Regions from separate parts of the Homo sapiens genome. Here all the other regions are linked to region 2. Evidence: promoter capture Hi-C in 16 types of primary human blood cells and fetal thymus (Javierre and others, 2016). All regions are on one chromosome and are shown on one strand. Each heading gives the region's core, a stretch centred on a gene start or on the middle of the fragment in contact. The rest is flanking DNA. Distances are from core to core; before and after follow the strand shown.

Region 1 (2,835 bases), core at 128-2,627, 310 kb before region 2:
GTATGTGTAATTACAGTAAATGCAGGTGTTGGAAGGTACTTGGTAAATGCTGGAAAGACATTTCCCTAGACCCCTCCCACCTTAGCAGTTAGGTGCTCTCTCTTCTGGTTCTCAGAGAGTTCTGGAAGTGGACAGCAAGCTGGGGCTCGTGACTCACCAGGCCACTCTTCTGTGTTTTGATTTTCTAGTGCCCAAGGTTGAAGCAATGAATAAAAGACTGGGCTCCTTGGTGGATGAGTTTAAGGAGCTTGTTTACCCACCAGATTACAATCCTGAAGGGAAAGTTACCAAGAGAAAACACGGTGAGAAGCTGAATGTGGACATGTGGGCTATTTTTAAAAATTGCTTTTATGATAGTCTTATCACAGTGGGCAATATCCTTTCAGAAATATCTATTCACAGTCTAGTTAAAATGGCTTTTATCCAAAAAACAGACAATAACAAATGCTGGCAAAGATGTGGAGAAAAGGGAACCCTCATACACTGTTGGTGGGAATGTAAATTAGTACAGCCACTATTATGGAGAATAGTTGGGAGTTTCCTCAAAAAGTGAAAACTAGAGCTACCATATGATCCAGCATACCATATGATCCAGTCAGTATATACCCAAAAGAAAGGAGATCAATATATCAAAGAGATATGTGCACTCCCATGTTTATTGCAGCACCATTCACAATAGCCAAGATCTGGAAGCAACTTGTGTCCATCAACAGATGCCTGGTAAAGAAAATGTGGTACACGTACACAATGGAGTACTATTCGGCCATAAAAAAGAATGAGATCCTGTCATTTGCAATAATATGTTAAGTGAAGTAAGCCAGGCTCAGAAAGACAGACATTTACATGTTCTCACTTATTTGTGGAATCTAAAAATCAAAACAATTGAACTCATGGAGAGAGAGCATAGAAGGATGGTTACCAGAGGCTGAGAAGGGTAGTGAGGCATTGTGGGGTTGGTGGGGATGGTTAATGGGTACAAAAAAAAAATAGAATGATTAAGATCTATTCGATAATACAACAGAGTGACTATAGTCTAATTTAATTGTACATTTAAAAATAACTAAAGGAATACAATTGGAATGTTTGTAACACAAAAGATAAATGCTTGAGGGGATGGATACCCCATTTATGCTGATGTGATTATTTCACATTGCATGCCTGTATCAAAATACCTCAGGTACCCCACAAATATATATACCTAGTATGTACCCACAAAAATTAAAAATGAAAAAATTTTAGAAAAGAACTGTCTATACAACCATACATATTTACACATACCAACATACATATTTCAGCACAAATGGAATAATACATTGTTTTCTAGTTTGCTATTTTTGTTACTCAGCTATATATGTTGGACAGTTATTTATATCCACACTTACCTATCTCATTTTTTAAAAAATGAGGCTGCAGAGTAGTTCATTGGATAGATATACCAGGTTATTTAACCAGACCTGTATTGACAGGTGGATATGCTGCAGTGAACATGCATTTCCATCGTGTTCTTGTGTGAATAGATCCACAGGATGCATTCTTGCAGTGAATTGCTTCCAAAACAGTGATTTACCCTCTATCCAAGAAGGAGTGAATGTTTTCCTGCACTCTCACCCTTCCAGGACTTAATTTTTTTAATTTCTATTTAAAATGATACAGAAGTTGGCCAGGTGCGGTGGCTCACACCTGTAATCCCAGCACTTTGGGAGCCTGAGGTGGGCGGATCATGAGGTCAGGAGTTCAAGACCAGCCTGGCCAACACAGTGAAACCTCGTCTGTACTAAAAATACAAAAATTAGCCAGATGTGGTAGTGGGCGCCTGTAGTCCCAACTACCTGGGAGACTGAGGTAGGAGAATCCCTTGAACCCGGGAGGCAGAGGTTGCAGTGAGCCGAGACCACACCATTGCACTCCAGCCTCGGTGATAGAGTGAGACTCCATCTCAAAAATGATACAGAAGTTATATCCTTTTTTTGTTTTTAGACAGTCTTGCTCTGTCACCCAGGCTGGAGTCCAGTGGCTCAATCACAGTTCACTGGCTCACTGTAGCCTCAACCTCCTGGGCTCGAGTGATCCTGCAGCCTCAGCCTGCTGAGTAGCTGAGACTGCAGGTGCACACCACCATGGCCGGTTGATTTTATTACTTTAGAGCCAGGGTCTCACTGTATTACCAAGGCTGGTCATGAACCTGTAAAAGATTTTCAAAGGAAGGAAGGAATGACTTACCCAGAGTGAGCAACAGTTTTGGGTAAACTGATGGCATTCACACTACTTGTAATTTCCTCCTAGGTGTGATCTGTGTTTTATTTTGCACTTTAAATGAAGCTACCTTATCGAGATAAGTCTTCCCCATGGTGTCCTAGGCTGGCATCACAGCTTTATGGTTAATTGCAGCCCAGATTATACGAGGTCCCCCATGCCATGTAGCTGGGATGCCACTTGTATGTAGCATTTCCAGTCACTCTCTCCTGACCTTTCCCCCCAGATAATGAAGGTTCTGGAAGCAAAAGGCCCAAGGTGGAGTATTCAGAAGAGGAGCTGAAGACCCACATCAGCAAGGGTACGCTGGGCAAGTTCACTGTGCCCATGCTGAAAGAGGCCTGCCGGGCTTACGGGCTGAAGAGTGGGCTGAAGAAGCAGGAGCTGCTGGAAGCCCTCACCAAGCACTTCCAGGACTGACCAGAGGCCGCGCGTCCAGCTGCCCTTCCGCAGTGTGGCCAGGCTGCCTGGCCTTGTCCTCAGCCAGTTAAAATGTGTTTCTCCTGAGCTAGGAAGAGTCTACCCGACATAAGTCGAGGGACTTTATGTTTTTGAGGCTTTCTGTTGCCATGGTGATGGTGT
Region 2 (2,744 bases), core at 127-2,626:
TTTGGGAGGTGGAGGTAGGAGTATTGCTTGAGCTCAGAAGTTCGAGACCAGCCTGAGCTACATAGGGAGACCCCCGTCTCTACAAAAAATAAAAACTTAGCTGGGCGTGGTGGTGCATGCCTGTGGTCCCAGCTACTCTGGAGGCAGAAGTGGGAGGATCACTTGTGCCCAAGAGGCTGCAGTGAGCCATGATGGCGCCACTGTCTTCCAGCCTGGGCGACAGAGTGAAACCCTGTTCAAAAAAACTAATAACAACAACAGCAACAACAAACGAAACAGAGCTGAGCTAATATGGTAGCCACAGATTAAAATAAACTAAAAAATCCAGTTCCTTGGTCACTGTAGACACATTTTAAGTGATCGGTAGCCATCTGTGGCTAGTGGCTACTGTACTGGACAGCACAGACATAGAACATTTCCATTATCACTGAAAGTTGTATTGCCCAGCGCAGCTCCAGAAGCTCACTCGCTAAAGAGAGAGACACACAGGAGAGCAGACCAGACAACACAGTGTTGTGTGGGCTGCAATGTCCTCCTCGGTAAAAAGCAGGTGATGAGGCGGAGATTAAAGGAGATGCCAGGAGAATGCTTAGCCTAGTTCCTGACTCAGGGTGAGTGCTCGGAGGACATCTGCCATCACCGTACAGGACAGTACTATAGGATCTGTTTACATACCTATCTTCCTAGCAGACTGTGAGCTCCGCCCAGCCCTGGCATGGTGCCGGGCACAGAGCAAGTGCTCAGGAAATAGTAGCTGTTATCAGCACCATTGTTATTATCACCACTGCTATGACAGAGGCAGCCGAGGGCTGTGGGAACACAGAAGAGGGCTCCCATCCCAGCCCCAGGGCCAGGGGCTGCTGAGAGTCGGCATTGCCAGAGCCAGGCTGGGTGGCTTTGTGGTCCCCTCAGGGGCAGGCCTAGGGCGGGGTCCTCTTCACACCCTTAGGGTCTGGGTACAGGGTCCAGCTGGAGCAAGCTGGGGCTCAGGGAATAGTTGTGGAAGGAGCTCTAGCCTCCAGGAACTCCAGCCCCCTTGAGGAAAGACCAGGTGAGTGGGCAAGATGGTCTGAGGGTTGCAGAGCTGAACAGGGCATGAAGGGCACAGAGGCAGAGCCAGAGGGAGACTCGCGCTGGGACTACCAGAGTGCAGCCATATTTGGAGTACCCCTGTTTTTACTGCAGACTCCCCAGGCATCAAAGTCTGTGGGAGACAGAGCAGATTTGGGGAGGGCAGGCTGCAGGGAACCTCCCTGCAGGTGGCCGTGAGTGCCAGCCTGGCCGTTACCAGCCTCCCATGGCTCTTCAGGATTCCAGAGGCTCAGAGCAGCCATTCACAGCCGCCCACTCCTAGGAAGCCAGCCCCTCCCTGCACCAGAGCCCAGCCCAGCACGGTCTCCGGGGATGTAGCTGGTGGGACAGTGAGCAGAGGGCTGGGCCCTGTGCCTGGGGACTGTGGCCTGGAGGCTGAGCAGGAGCTGAGGAGGGGACCAGAGGGACAAGGCCCCTAAGCTGGCCACCATGGCCAGACTCTGAGTGCAGGGGAGGTGAGGGGCCTGCGTGTGCCTTATCTTCCCAGACACACTGGATCCTTCTTGTCCTCTGATCAAGGTAGGTGTGTAGGGGGGTGGAAGGGTGTGGGGGTTTGTGGGGGTGGGAGGGTGGTGGGGGTGGGGTGGGGAAGGACCAAGCAATCCATGGAAGATGGGAGTGCAGTGAGGGGATGGGGAGTCGGGTGATGCCCTCGGACACCCTGTCCTCTGGCCTGCTCTGTGTGTGGGTGTGCACACTGAGGGGAGCTGTTTGTGGCTAAGTGCAGGGTAAACGTGTGTGCCCAAGTGGATGTGGCTGTGCAGGAGGGGGCAGAAGTTCAGGGCTGCAGTGATAGGCCAGGTGGGAAAGGGTTGGAGGCCAGGACAGTCTTGGATACAAATATATGGCTGGAGAGGGATGAGGGGCTGGGGGCACCATTGTGAGGGGTGATGCCTTCCCTGTCCGGTGCCCTGCCTTCCCCGTCCCTGCTGCAGACCTCAAGGACCTGGCTACATGATCACTCCCCTCCCCATGAGCCCTCTGGAACTGACTCCTCCCACCAGCCCTGGCCTTGTCCCCCAGCTGCAGGTCCCAGCCTGCTGTGTTAAAAGCAACCAAACCAACTTTTTTCTAGAGGGTGAGTTACTTGGAGTCCAGAGTAGCAGGGAGTGGCCCATCTACTAAGACCACAGCCAGAGTCCTGAGCTTCATCCTCGACACCTCTTTGTGCCCACTCCCTACCCTGGGCAGTCCCGCCACTTCTACCCCTGTGCAATGCAGCCTCCTCCAGCCCCAGCCCTAGCTCTGCCCCTTGCACAGCCCACGGAGCAGAGAGTTTCAACTATGTCCTCATGGGATCCTGGCTTCAATTCTGTTCCCATCTGATCCCTCTGTCACACTGCCCGAGTGGCCGTTCCCACCTACAGATCGGAATGGGTCACATTCCCTGGCCTAAACTTTGCTGTAGCCTGGCCTGGACCCCAGCTCACCTGCAGCCTTGGCTCTCCCCTCCCTGCTACATACAGCCTAGGAGCCCCATGTTGGATTTTCAGAAAGATGCCACACTTTCTCACCTTTGGGCCTTCTGTAGGAACAGCCCCAGCTCAGGTCTAGCCTCCCGCCTTTCTACCCCTAATGCTTAGCTTGGTGGAGCCCTGCCTACTTCCTTGCCTGGCATCCCTGGGCATGGCAGCCTCTTCAAGGGCGGGGAC
Region 3 (2,903 bases), core at 364-2,863, 280 kb before region 2:
TTTTCAGATGGAGTCACGCTCTGTCACCCAGGCTGGACTGCAGTGGCGTGATCTTGGCTCACTGCAACCTCCGCCTCCTGGGTTCAAGCAATTCTTGTGCCTCAGCCTCCTGAGTAGCTGGGATTACAGGCATGCGCCATGATGGCTGGCTAATTTTTGTATTTTTAGTAGAGAAGGGGTTTTGCCATGTTGGCCAGGCTGGTCTGGAACTCCTGACCTCAAGTGATCCACCCATCTTGGCCTCCCAAAGTGCTGGGATTACAGACATGAGCCACCATGCCCTGCCATCAGAACAAACTTTTAGAAACAGAACATAGCACTTAGCTGCTCAAAACCCTGCAATGGCTCCTATACTTACATTATCTGGCAAACTCAGAATAAAATTCTCGCTCCTAATCACGACTCTAAGGACCAGCATAATCTGTCCCATGTTTGTCTCCGATCTTATCTCCCAGTGCTCTCCTCATTACTGGTTCCATTCTGGCCACACAGTCTTCTTTGCTGTTCCTGTACATGTAATTTTGTTCCATCCTCAAGCCTTTGTACTTAATGTCTCTTCTGCCTACAACGCTCTTTCCTCAGATGTCACTTGGTTTGCCCCTTACTTCATTCAGGCTCCAGTCAAATGTCACTTCCTCCAAGAAGCCTTTCCTGACTATTCTGTCTGTGCGGATTATGCAAGTTATTATGTGTGCAAGGATTTTGCTTCTCTGTTCTCATCTACAGGTGCCACTGCAGAAGCGGGCAGTGCCCTCCATGAGGTGCGAAACTGTCTTCAAGCTGACTCCTGAATTCTTCAGTCCTGGAAAGTCCAGGGGCCTAGATTCTCAACAATGCGCACAAAGGCAGAGATGGGGATACCGGAGGAGCCTCCAGGAATCATGGGCCCAGAACCTGCTCTCTCCACAGCACCCATGTCCAGGCCCACCTTCGGGTGTCCACACCCACTCTGAGCCCATCTTTTGTACCACCTCCATTTCAAACACCTGTTTACTGCCTCAGAACAGTTCCTGGAAAGCATGGCAGGTGCCTTGGTGTCTCCATGATGGTCAGACTCGCCCTGCCTTGGACATGTGTCAAGAGATGGAGCAGCTGCTGCTTCACTCACAGGAAAGGTTGGTGTCACTGGAGCCTGTCATCAGTGTGAGGTCTCGCCCCACCTCCATGACCTTAACCACCTCTCTTCCAAACTTACTTTCAGCTGAGAGGCTGCAGTTCTGCCCCCAGAGAGCTCCTGCCTGATCCTTCCCACCAAACACTGAGAATGTGCACTTGGAAGTCTTGGCACTGTCGACCAGAGGCCTGGGAACCAGGGGGTAAAAACCAGAAAGCAGGCAGAGAGGATAGTAGAGAGACCCAGGCTCCAAGGTGGGTGAACCAGACAGGGAGCAGACGGGAGGATGCTTCAGAAATCCAGGCATCTGGGGAGTAGTTCCCAGTAGACTTTGGAATGGAGGGTGATGCAGAGACTAACGTGTTGGAGTGTGCAAACCAGAGACTAGTAATAAGTGAAACTGATGGCGAGATCTTGACACCAGGGTGGGACACCCAGGACCGGATGGGAGTTGAGAGTAGAACCAACATTCAGGAACTAGGGAATAGAAACCAGAGGGAGGCTGGAGGTGAGAATCTCCCTGAAACCCAGGCACATATGGGAGAGAACCAAGAACAGTTAAGATGTAAAATTGATGCAGAGACCCAAACACCTGAGTGGGAGAACCAGGATAAGAATGGAAGTGAGGATGCTGTGGAGACCCAGACATTTGAGAAGAAGGACAAGAAAGAGGCTGGAGAGGAGGATGGGGAAGAGATCCAGGCTCAAGGATTGGGGAAGCAAGGCCAGACTGGAGATGAGAATGGTGAGGAGACCCAGACACCACAGTGGGAGAAACAAGATCAGATGAAAGGTGATGCGGATGTGGAAATTCAGATGGAAGAGGGGAGAAACAAGGATCAGGTTGGAGGTCAGGATGCTGCACAAACCCAATCATGTGGGAGGGAGAACGTGGGAGAAGTAAAAAAAGAGAATAGTGTAGAGACCCAGGCCTTGGATTGGGGAAAACAGGAATGTGTTGGAAATGGGAATGTTACAGAGATCCAGACACCAAGGTGGGAGAAGCATGATCAAGGTGGAAGTAAGAAAGCTAAGAAGACCCAAGCATCTGGGGGAGAGAACCAGAAACAATTAAGTCATGAAATTCAAGTGGGGTGGGGAAATAAGGGCCTGAGAAGAGATGAAGATGCTAAGGAAACCCAGATAGCTACCAAGAAGAAGCTCAGGGAGATAAGAGAAGGATTGGGTGGTGATCCAGGCACTATGGTGGGGAAACCGGAGACAAGTAGCAAGTGAAATTTATAGAGAATTTGAGATACTATGTTGGGAGAATCAGAACTGGATTGGAGGTGAACATAGAGCAGAAATTCAGGCATCAGAGAAGAGAGACCAAAGAAAGGATGGATGTGAGGATGGCACAAATATCCTGGCACCCGAGGCTGAGATCCAGGAACAATTAAAAGGTGAAACTGATGTGGAGACTCAGAGCAATGAGCCACTTAGAGAAGAGGATGGTACAGACATTCAGTCACTAGGGAGGAGAGAGGTTAAAGGTGAGGATGATAAAGACACCCAGGAACTTGGGAGGAAAAATCAGGGTCAGTTAGGAAATGAATTTAGTGGAAAGATTCACATACCAAAGGGGAAGAATCAGGAACATATTAGAGGCGAAGATGGTGCACATACCCAGATATCTGAGTCAGGGAACTGGGGCAAATTAACAAGTCAAATTGATGGAGAAATGCATTCAGCAGAATGGAAGAAAGATCAGCAGATTGGAGGTGAGAATGGGGCAGAAATTCAGATACAAGGGAAGAGAAACCTGAGAGAAGTTGGAGGTGAGGACGGT
Region 4 (2,735 bases), core at 30-2,529, 310 kb after region 2:
GCTTTGTGCAAGTCTCTGAGCCCGCATGGAGGGAGCATGGGGGCTCAGAACAGTTCTTTCTGGGGCAAGGTCAGGGGAGGCTCTAAAGTTATGGTGGTGGGGAGGGCCTTAAAACAGAGGACCAGAGAATACCAAGACTTAGGGGTGTGGGGGAGAGCCACCTGCTGTGCCCAGGAGGACTGTGCCCAGTGCAGGGGAAAAAGATGAAGCTGCGGAGTTGGGCAAGGGTGGGATCCTGCAGGGCCTTAGAGCATTGACATGTTTGGCATGGATTTGTTTCACAGGGTCCCACAGAAACTTCTGCTCTCCAGGTTTGCCCCTCCACTCTGCCCTCCAGGATAGAAGTGTGGCATCCTAATCTGGGATGCATCCATCTCTCCCCCTGGACTGTGAGCATATGCAGGGCAGAGACACCTCTGCTTCTCTTGGGTCTCCGGCATCCTGTGCAGGGTAGGGCACCATGTCCATTAAAATGATGTTAATGAGGATGATACAGCCCAGAGGAATCCAGGCTTACTATGAACCAGGCACTATGCAGATTTCCCTTTATCATCCCAGTTCTTCTTATTTGCAGCAGTCTAATGAGTTTGGTACTGTTATCACCCCTATTTTACAGATGGGGCCACTGAGGTGCAAAGAGTTTAACTTATCCCAAGTCACACAGTTTGGAAGAGGCTGAGCTGGTATTTGAACCCAGGTTTTCAGAGGCTGCACTCTTAACCACCAAGCTTCCCAGCACTCAGCAAACACTGGAAAGACAGAGATGGACCTAGACAGTCAGTAGGACCAAAAGTCTGCAGGCCGATAGGGAAAGAATGTAAGAGGACGGCATGGGCAGCGCCAGCCCCTCCAGCAGTCATATATTAAGCCCTGGACACTGGGCAGCTCGGGCAGGTCGGGGGGCCTCAGACTCTCGGACCCCATGCCTGGAAGACCACGGTCTGCCCAACAAGCAGCAGCTGCTGTGAATCGACTTACACATCTTCCCCACAGGTGAGCAGAGAGCTAACACCTGAGGATAGGCCAAGAAACGGGAAGCCCGTGCAACCTGAGCGCACAGATCACCCCCACCTGCCCGGCACTCACTGTCCCCAGTGGCTGGACTCTCATCGGGCCAGTCACTGAGCTGGCGCCAGCCTGGTCTCACCAGTGTGTGTCTTTAAATCATCCAATTTCTTCAGCTGTAAATTGGGCTGGGAGGGGCCAGGTGAGCTGCCTGCCTCAGGGGAGTCGGCGCCCTTACCTGAGTGATCCCATTCACTCCTCACAACAAACCCATGAGGCAGGGATTGTCATCTTCATTGTACAGAGCAGGAAATGGGTGCACACAGAGGTTAAGAGACTTGCCCAGGTCACACAGCTAGGAAGAGGCTGTGATTTGAACTCAGTCTTCTGGCTCCAAAGCCCCCACAGAGTCACTCAGGGCACTACAAAGAGTTAACCTGAATATGAAATGATCTAAGAGTCGCAGTGACAAAGGCATGCTCTAAGCGCTTTTCCTGCAGTAACTTGCTTAATCCTTACAACAACCCTATAAAGTGGGTACTGTTCTCGCCTCATTTTGCAGATGAGGAAACTGAGGCACAGAGCAGCTCGGAGGGGGCAGAGCTGAATCTGACAGGCTACAGGGCCCCTGCGTTGCTTTGTTATAAGATGACAATAAGGAAGTTCCTTTCCTTTGGGATTATTTCTGCCTGAAAGCTCAAGACTTTTAGCCACATCATTGTCTGGGCTCCACGGGAAGGCAGTGCCACATGCTGAGGCATGCTGGGAAAAGACTTTGTTCCATCCTGTTTTGTTGACATGCTCTTCATTTTTAAGCCTGAAACCGAAGCTTCCTGCTAAGAATTCAAACCATGGAGAAAAACGCAGCCATGATAACGGCCACTACTTCCTGAGCCTCCAGTGTTCCCTGTGCTTGGGGATCCATATATGTCACTTAACCTTAACCTTCACAACACCAGGGCAGCCTCCATTTTCACAAGTGAAGAAATGGAGGCCCAGAGTCACTTAGAAGATGCTCGAAGGTGCACAGCTGCTAAGTGGTGGTGCTGGGATTTGTCCTCAGGTCCTCAAGAGTCCTGACTCTTATGTGCTGGCTCCCCACGGAGGCGTGGAGTCTTGTTTGCTGGGCATTTGACAGAAATGTTTCTGCTCATCTTCTGCCACAGGTTGGTCCTTCAGCGTCAAGATTCCTGGGCCACTTATTAATAGAAGGCACCAGGACACAGGTGCAGGGATGCAGAGCTGGATGCTGCCTTCTCAATAGGAGAAGCCAAGAAACGCAGATGCCGATGCTTAATCAACTCCGTCTCTCCCTCTAGTGACTCGGGGATAGCTGCCCTGATGCCAAGGCGATTGTCTTCTGGAAGCAGCCACGCCGTGTGAGGTTCCTCATCACTGCCCTGCATCTCCCTGCGAGCTCTCGGGGATAATTGCAAAATCACGTTTGATTCCAGGGGAGCAGAAAGCAGCAGGAGCCGTGAATTCTCCAACTCTTAACTGGTCCTCGACTGGAGCCACTTTTCCCTGCCCACCCATCCCTGTGGCGGATTCATTACAGTTATCCAAAGCCGGTTTTAACTTTGCTCCCCCTGGCTCAGAAGTCTGTCAGTGGGTCCTGAGCGGCTTCACCATTCAAGTTTATTCCTATCAGCCTGGAATACAATGCTCTATCTGGCTCCGCTTGCTTCTCCAAACCTTCTCTCCCAGGTCTCATTCTGCCTCTCTGTCTA
Region 5 (2,965 bases), core at 171-2,670, 390 kb after region 2:
GAGCCTGGGGCCCAGAAAACGAGGGGATTTTATTCCCTTTGGGCGATTGGAGTCATGGGAAGTTCTGCAGAGAAAGGAGTAGATGTTCCTGTCAGTCCTTGATTAGCCTCCGCCTGTGCTCGACTTGGTACACTCCCTCCCATCCTAGGCCGGAGGGTCCTAGCCAGCAACCTGCCTCCTGGGCCCAGGACACACTCATGCGGCTAATGCTTGGTCAGTCCAGGCCTTCTGAGGCCGTTCATCCTCACAGCAGCCTCATGTGTGAGGCCGGTCCTATTATTATTATTGTTTGACAAGTGAGGACACCAAGGCACAGCGAATGTCACACAGATCAATGTCGTCTTGCAGATAGCAGGGGACAGAGCCAGGAGTCAAGCCCAGGCTGGGGATTCAACTCCAGAATCCACACTGGCCTCTCCCAGCTATGAGAATGGCCTCGGAGCCCTTTGAGGTGCCCTCAGAGCCTCGGATGCCCTCAGAGCTGGGCATTGTGTGACACATCCAGCACTACTGTTCTCCCAACAGGCAGGGTGGGGGCCATTGTGTCCACTTTCAGGGAAAGAAGCTGAAAGGTGGTGTGACTTGCTCAGGGCCCCGAAGTTTGCTTCTGGAGCAGCTGGGACCTCAGCCCAGGTCTGGGACGTCCCTGTGCTGGGTGCTTGGCAGGCACGACACATGCAATCTTGCACCCAAGCCTATTTCCGAGGTGAATACTGAGGCCCCCTCAGCCTGGAGTTATTTCTGAGGTCCTTGCTGTCTTTTGAGGAGGAAGAAAATGGATTCCCCCTCCCAGGCCCCTAGGCTTCATGTCCCAGGTCCCTTTACTTTTTCTTCTTCTTCTTCTTCTTTTTTTTTTTTTTTTTGAGATGGAGTCTTGCTCTGTCACCCAGGCTGGAGTGCAGTGGCGCGATCTCGGCTCACTGGAACCTCTGCCTCCCGTGTTCAAGCAGTTCTCCTATCTCAGCCTCCCAAGTAGCTGGGGTTACAGGCGTGCACCACCACTCCTGGCTAATTTTTTGTATTTTTAGTAGAGATGGGGTTTCGCCATGTTGGCCAGGCTGGTCTTGAACTCCTGACCTCAGGTGATCTGCCCTCTTGGCCTCCCAAATTGCTGGGACTATAGGCATGAGCCACCGCGCCCAGCCCCAGGTCCCTTTACTTCTGTTCCTCTCTTGACTCTCTCCTTTCAAAGAGGCTTCTCATTCCAAGAAGCGCCTGGCCCACTGGTCTTGGTCCCGCCCTGCTGACAGCCAGTTATCCCCTGAGCCCAGCCAGGAGACTGAAAAGCTTTACTGCATTCTCTTAAGGGCTTCACAGCCAGGAAAACCAGCAAAGGGGAATATAGTGTCTGCAGACCGGTGAGGTCCAGGGTCGCTCCATAAAAATGGATTCCTGGAAAAACATAAACCAGCAATTTACCCTGTGAATTTTATTGGCCTAAAAAAAAAAAAAAGGCTATCTCATTTGAATAATGAAGAGAGATAAACCATTCCTAGCTCCTCTTTTATTAGTGAATAAGGACACAAACACTCAACAGAAATGGAACACTCACACAAAGCTTCAGGTCTGATTTATTAGCCACTTTAGTTTCATAAAACTCAGCATTTCTATTAAAATAAAATGATGTCCAAAAGGTTTGCTTGTTTTTAAGAAAATTGCATTTAATACAGGGCAAGACTTTGTTATGGTTTATTTATTTATTTATTTATTTTTTAAACAAAGCTCAAATTCTCCTGACTTCACGCCTGTTACTACAGCTGGAGGGAAACCGATTTCAGAATCTATCTGATATGTCGGATTTCTTTGTGGCATCCACTTCATCGCTCAGCAGCCAGCCATGATGTCATAAGCCCATCAGATTTCCGGTAGGGGGAAAACGCTGGGGAATTGGAAAGAATGGATGTTTCTTACCCGTCAGGAAGGCAGGGGAAGGAGCTGGGTATGTTTGGGAGGAGAAGCCGCGTGGCTGGTGGGGGACAGGAGCAGGCTCAATGTTTGTGATATTAAATGTCAGGCAGAAACCTGAAAACCCCAGCTACCCAGATGTTTTCTCAATATCCAGATGTCTGGCACTGAGCAGACCATGCTCCCGCCTCCCAGGAGGTGCTCAGCATTTGGGCTTTGACCTCAGGTCTCCGGGTGAGCGCACACTGCCAGGAGCTGTACATCCTCGCGGCTGCCCACCCTTGGGTTTGGGATTTTTTTTCTAAATCTTTACACATAGATGACAGGAGTAACTAGGTCCAGATTTTTAAAAGCTGTTGAAGCAGTGATTTGAGAAGTTCAGTCTCTGGAACGCTATGTAAGCCAAAAAGGAGGAAAAAAAAAAAAAAACCCTCAGCCAACACACACACAAACATATGTGACTCTTAAGCCATAGGACTTAAGAACCCAAAACAAAACCAGCAAGTCTGAGAACCAGGGCTGGAGACCGACACTGAGAAGCGCTGAGCCCTCCCCCAGGAGCACGCTTTCCCCCAAATCAGAAAAACACCGCACAGCTTTGTTCTTCCTGACAAAGCCCCTTGCTTCCAGGGAGCCGACAGTTGCCAACAAAAGCACAGGGTGGAACTCATTTACACGCAGGCTGGGCTTCAAGGAGCCATCAAGTGCAGAAATGGAAATGGCTTTGCCTAGGAGCCCTGCCTCCCTGCGACTGGTAATGGGGACCCCTGGAGCCTGGGGGAGCCCCGCAGGTCACAGATGGAGCAGGGTCCTGGCCTCCTGGTGCCTGGCTAAGCATCTGCCCCACGGAAGTCACCACCTAGGCTTGTGACATCACAGCTAATTGCCCCTGACAATGAGCCAGGAACTGCAGGCCCCTCAGGGCTGCAAGCCTGAGACTTCACAGGGAGCCGGGAGGAGAGGCAGCTGGGGAGGGGCCATCGCCAATTAAAACCCAGTGCTCAGATAACAAGAAAGAAGTGGTTGAGGGGGACAGTATCGTCTCTGGTGGGGAGAGGGC
Region 6 (2,908 bases), core at 322-2,821, 490 kb after region 2:
GAGTGAGAAACACATGTCTTTTGGGTTAAGACGTTAATATTTGGGGATTTATATTAGGGGATTTATTTATTACAACAGCTAGCGTTTCCTTGCTGTTAACCTCAAAAATCATCAGTGTATCTCGAAAGACACATTCTTCTTCTTCTTCTCTTTTTAATTGAGATGGAGTCTCGCTCTGTTGCCCAAGCTGGAGTGCAGTGATGCAATCTTGGCTCACTGCAACCTCTGCTGGCCAGGTTCAAGCAATTCTCCTGCCTCAGCGTCCAGAGTAGCTGGTATTACAGGTGCCCATCACCACGCCCAGCTAATTTTTGTATTTTTAGTAGAGACAGAGGTTCGCCATGTTGGCCAGGCTGGTCTCGAACTCCTGACCTCAGGTGATCCACCTGCCTTGGCCTCCCAAAGTGCTGGGATGACAGGTTGGAGCCTCTGCGCCCAGCCCAATTCTTGAGTATTAAATGCTTAACTGCCTTGTTATACCTCCTGTACTAAGAACACTAAAAATGTAGAGCATTTTAGACAAGAAACCTAATTAAAAAAAAAAAAAAAAAACCCAGTTCAAAAGCATTTGGGAGTGATTCAGAAAACCACAGCCCCGGAGCTATAGTCTCTGAAGATGCGGGGCCTGGACCTCTCTGCATTCCCCCATTGGTGTCTGCTGAAGACTAGCGTCTGCAGAAATCCCAGTCTGTACACAGGCTGAGACTATTCCTTTTCCCTACATCCTGGTGATGGGCACACACACACCTCAAGGGAGGCGTCGATGCTCTCAGGCACTGAACTTGTTCCCGTGTCTTTATGTTTCATGATCGTATATGAGAGAGGGAGCGTGGCCTGGAACTGTACACAAAATGTGACCGAAAACAGCCTCTCGCTGTTTCCAATTAAACAACCTGCTCGAGCCTTTGGTTTCTCTCCATCACTTCCTGTCTCAATCTCACTGACGTCTTCTTTTTTAGCAAAATGCATTTGTATTTCAAGCAGAAGATCAATGGTTACATTTTAAAACGCTAAATATCTTTTCTGCCAGGCCGAATGGGGGTGTTTCTCCCATCCTTCTCTGCACGTCTTCTCATCTTAAAGCGATGGAATTGAGTTCTGTGAAATCCGATCTGGTGTTTAAGCTCTGATTTATAACAAATTACCTATGTGGCACTCAAGAAAGAACTTGTATGTCAGATAACACTGGAGTTTGATTTCACCACCCTGCCCCCAAACCCGTTTATTCATTCATGGCGGGGAGAGATCCAGAGGGCCGGAGCAATTTCATCAACCCTGGAATTCGCGCATGGAGCCTCCTCTCCCCAGACCATCCTGCTACCATGAATAGACAGCACGTGGCCGCCTTTTATGATAAGGTCAGAGGAAAGGAGTGCATAGAGAGAGGCCGTTTGGAGAGTCGGAGCTGTAAGTTTCAGGTATAAAACCTGAATAGTACCAGTCCTCTTGCCTGGGGCCAGATCAGACAGGAGGGAGGAGGTGGAAGGCAACTGTTCCACCTCCCGAGGTGATTCCTTTGGACGCCTGAATCCTTTGGATTCCCTGGCTCCCAGCAGCGGACTCTGCCCTCAGCCATCTTTATCACTCCTGATTAGGGCTGCAGACGCCTCCCTCCCCACCCTGCCTTGCCAGGCTTTGTGGCTCCCCGGGCTCGTTTTCTGATAGAGCTGTCAGTTTTTACTACTGATAGGAGAAATCATTTTCTTTCTTAGCTGAATGTTAATTGGCTCCCCTCCCCCATTCACTTAGTATATCCCGTCCCCTATTTTTTTTTTTTACCCCAAGGAAAAGGTACCTTAGTAGAGACACATTTCGGAAAGACAAAGAAGGTGTTTCTTGCTAAATTGCTAATTGGTAACTGAAATCAGAGGTTAAGAAAAAGCTAAAGAGGAGAGCGAGGAAGGAATTAGGACCACATGTTTCTGTAGCTTGAGGTGAGCTGGCGCCGCCTAAATGCTCCTCGGATGCAGCACCTGCTTTCTGTAGCGGGCTCAATATTCAATAAGGAGACCCACGAGATCAGCTGGGGCCAGTTGAGCAAACATTGACATCTTGGAGGTACCAGGCACCAAGACAGGTCCTAGAGATGCGGAGGTGACTAAGACCCTTTGACAGTCCTATGGGACAAAGTGTCAGTTTGATGTGATGGGAGCAGTGGCAAAGGTAAACCAGGATACTGCGAGACTCACCGAGGGTCACAGAAACTTCCTGGAGAAAGCGAAGTTAGAGCTAGGCTTTGTACGATAACTAGGAGTTGGCTGGGAGATGGTGGCGGCAGTAACATCCCAGGTAGAAGAGACAGCTTGTGGAAGGTCATGGGCGCCGTGGAGCATGGTGGTGCCTGAGAGGAGCAGTAAGAAGTTTGCTATGGCTAGAGATTAAGGTCACGTGGAGGACCAGCTCCAGCAGGGCTTGGGTGCCTTGCAGGTTTTCTCCCTATAATTCTCATACACTTAAACAGCAAACAAACAGACCAAGCGTGGTGGCTCACCCCTGTAATCCCAGCAGTTTGGGAGGCCGAGGTGGAAAGATCACCTGAGATCAGGAGTTCGAGACCAGGCTGGCCATGATGAAACCTCAGCTCTACTAAAAATACAAACATTAGCTGGGTGTGGTGGCGCACACCTGTAATCCCAGCTACTTGGGAGGCCAAAGCACAAGAACTGCTTGAACCCGGGAGGCGGAGGTTGCAGTGAGCAGAGATTGCGCCACTGCACTCCAGCCTGGTTGACAGAGTGAGACTCCGTCTCAAAACCAACAAACAGCTTTATTGAGGTTGAATTTACATACTGTAAAATGCACCTGCTTAAAGTATGCAAGTCAATGGGTTTTAGTATATTGACAGAGTTGTGTCACCATAACTAACTTTAGGACATCCCACAGAAAAGCCCTTCTGAGGAGGGTTTTT

What was found. Contacts are between HindIII fragments. The CHiCAGO score rates a contact against its expected background, and 5 or more counts as called.
Region 1: a contact is called between a fragment that was not itself captured here and the fragment with the promoter of SEPTIN3 in region 2, in 1 of 17 cell types (naive B cells). The highest score is 5.5, in naive B cells.
Region 3: a fragment that was not itself captured here is called in contact with the fragment with the promoter of SEPTIN3 in region 2 in 3 of 17 cell types (total CD8 T cells, naive B cells and naive CD8 T cells); the score reaches 6.0 in total CD8 T cells.
Region 4: a fragment that was not itself captured here is called in contact with the fragment with the promoter of SEPTIN3 in region 2 in 1 of 17 cell types (M1 macrophages); the score reaches 5.4 in M1 macrophages.
Region 5: a contact is called between a fragment that was not itself captured here and the fragment with the promoter of SEPTIN3 in region 2, in 1 of 17 cell types (M2 macrophages). The highest score is 5.6, in M2 macrophages.
Region 6: a contact is called between a fragment that was not itself captured here and the fragment with the promoter of SEPTIN3 in region 2, in 14 of 17 cell types (M0 macrophages, total CD4 T cells, endothelial precursors and 11 more). The highest score is 10.4, in M0 macrophages.

What each region holds. Positions count from the first base shown.
Region 1 is chr22:41,661,143-41,663,977 of GRCh38, forward strand. It overlaps XRCC6 (X-ray repair cross complementing 6), which reads left to right. Exons shown (of 13, transcript NM_001469.5): 12 at 189-302; 13 at 2,480-2,835. The coding sequence ends at 2,673. Among named protein-coding and RNA genes, the nearest start is that of SNU13, 26 kb to the right of the region's middle. The HindIII fragment of the contact is 4,603 bases long and covers 1-2,835 here.
Region 2 is chr22:41,968,067-41,970,810 of GRCh38, forward strand. It overlaps SEPTIN3 (septin 3), which reads left to right and starts at 1,377. Exons shown (of 12, transcript NM_001363845.2): 1 at 1,377-1,611. The HindIII fragment of the contact is 14,934 bases long and covers 1-2,744 here.
Region 3 is chr22:41,692,737-41,695,639 of GRCh38, forward strand. It overlaps the pseudogene C22orf46P. Among named protein-coding and RNA genes, the nearest start is that of MEI1, 5.3 kb to the right of the region's middle. The HindIII fragment of the contact is 7,463 bases long and covers 1-2,903 here.
Region 4 is chr22:42,274,372-42,277,106 of GRCh38, forward strand. It overlaps a transcript of TCF20 not described here and the pseudogene OGFRP1. Among named protein-coding and RNA genes, the nearest start is that of TCF20, 5.1 kb to the left of the region's middle. RefSeq lists enhancers at 495-1,291, 1,292-2,088. The HindIII fragment of the contact is 1,106 bases long and covers 727-1,832 here.
Region 5 is chr22:42,362,847-42,365,811 of GRCh38, forward strand. LINC01315 (long intergenic non-protein coding RNA 1315) reads right to left here. Exons shown (of 2, transcript NR_120597.1): 2 at 1,554-1,879. Among named protein-coding and RNA genes, the nearest start is that of LINC01315, 4.9 kb to the right of the region's middle. RefSeq lists enhancers at 291-944, 2,455-2,965. The HindIII fragment of the contact is 271 bases long and covers 1,286-1,556 here.
Region 6 is chr22:42,458,303-42,461,210 of GRCh38, forward strand. No RefSeq gene overlaps it. Among named protein-coding and RNA genes, the nearest start is that of NFAM1, 27 kb to the left of the region's middle. RefSeq lists an enhancer at 1-4. The HindIII fragment of the contact is 4,963 bases long and covers 1-2,908 here.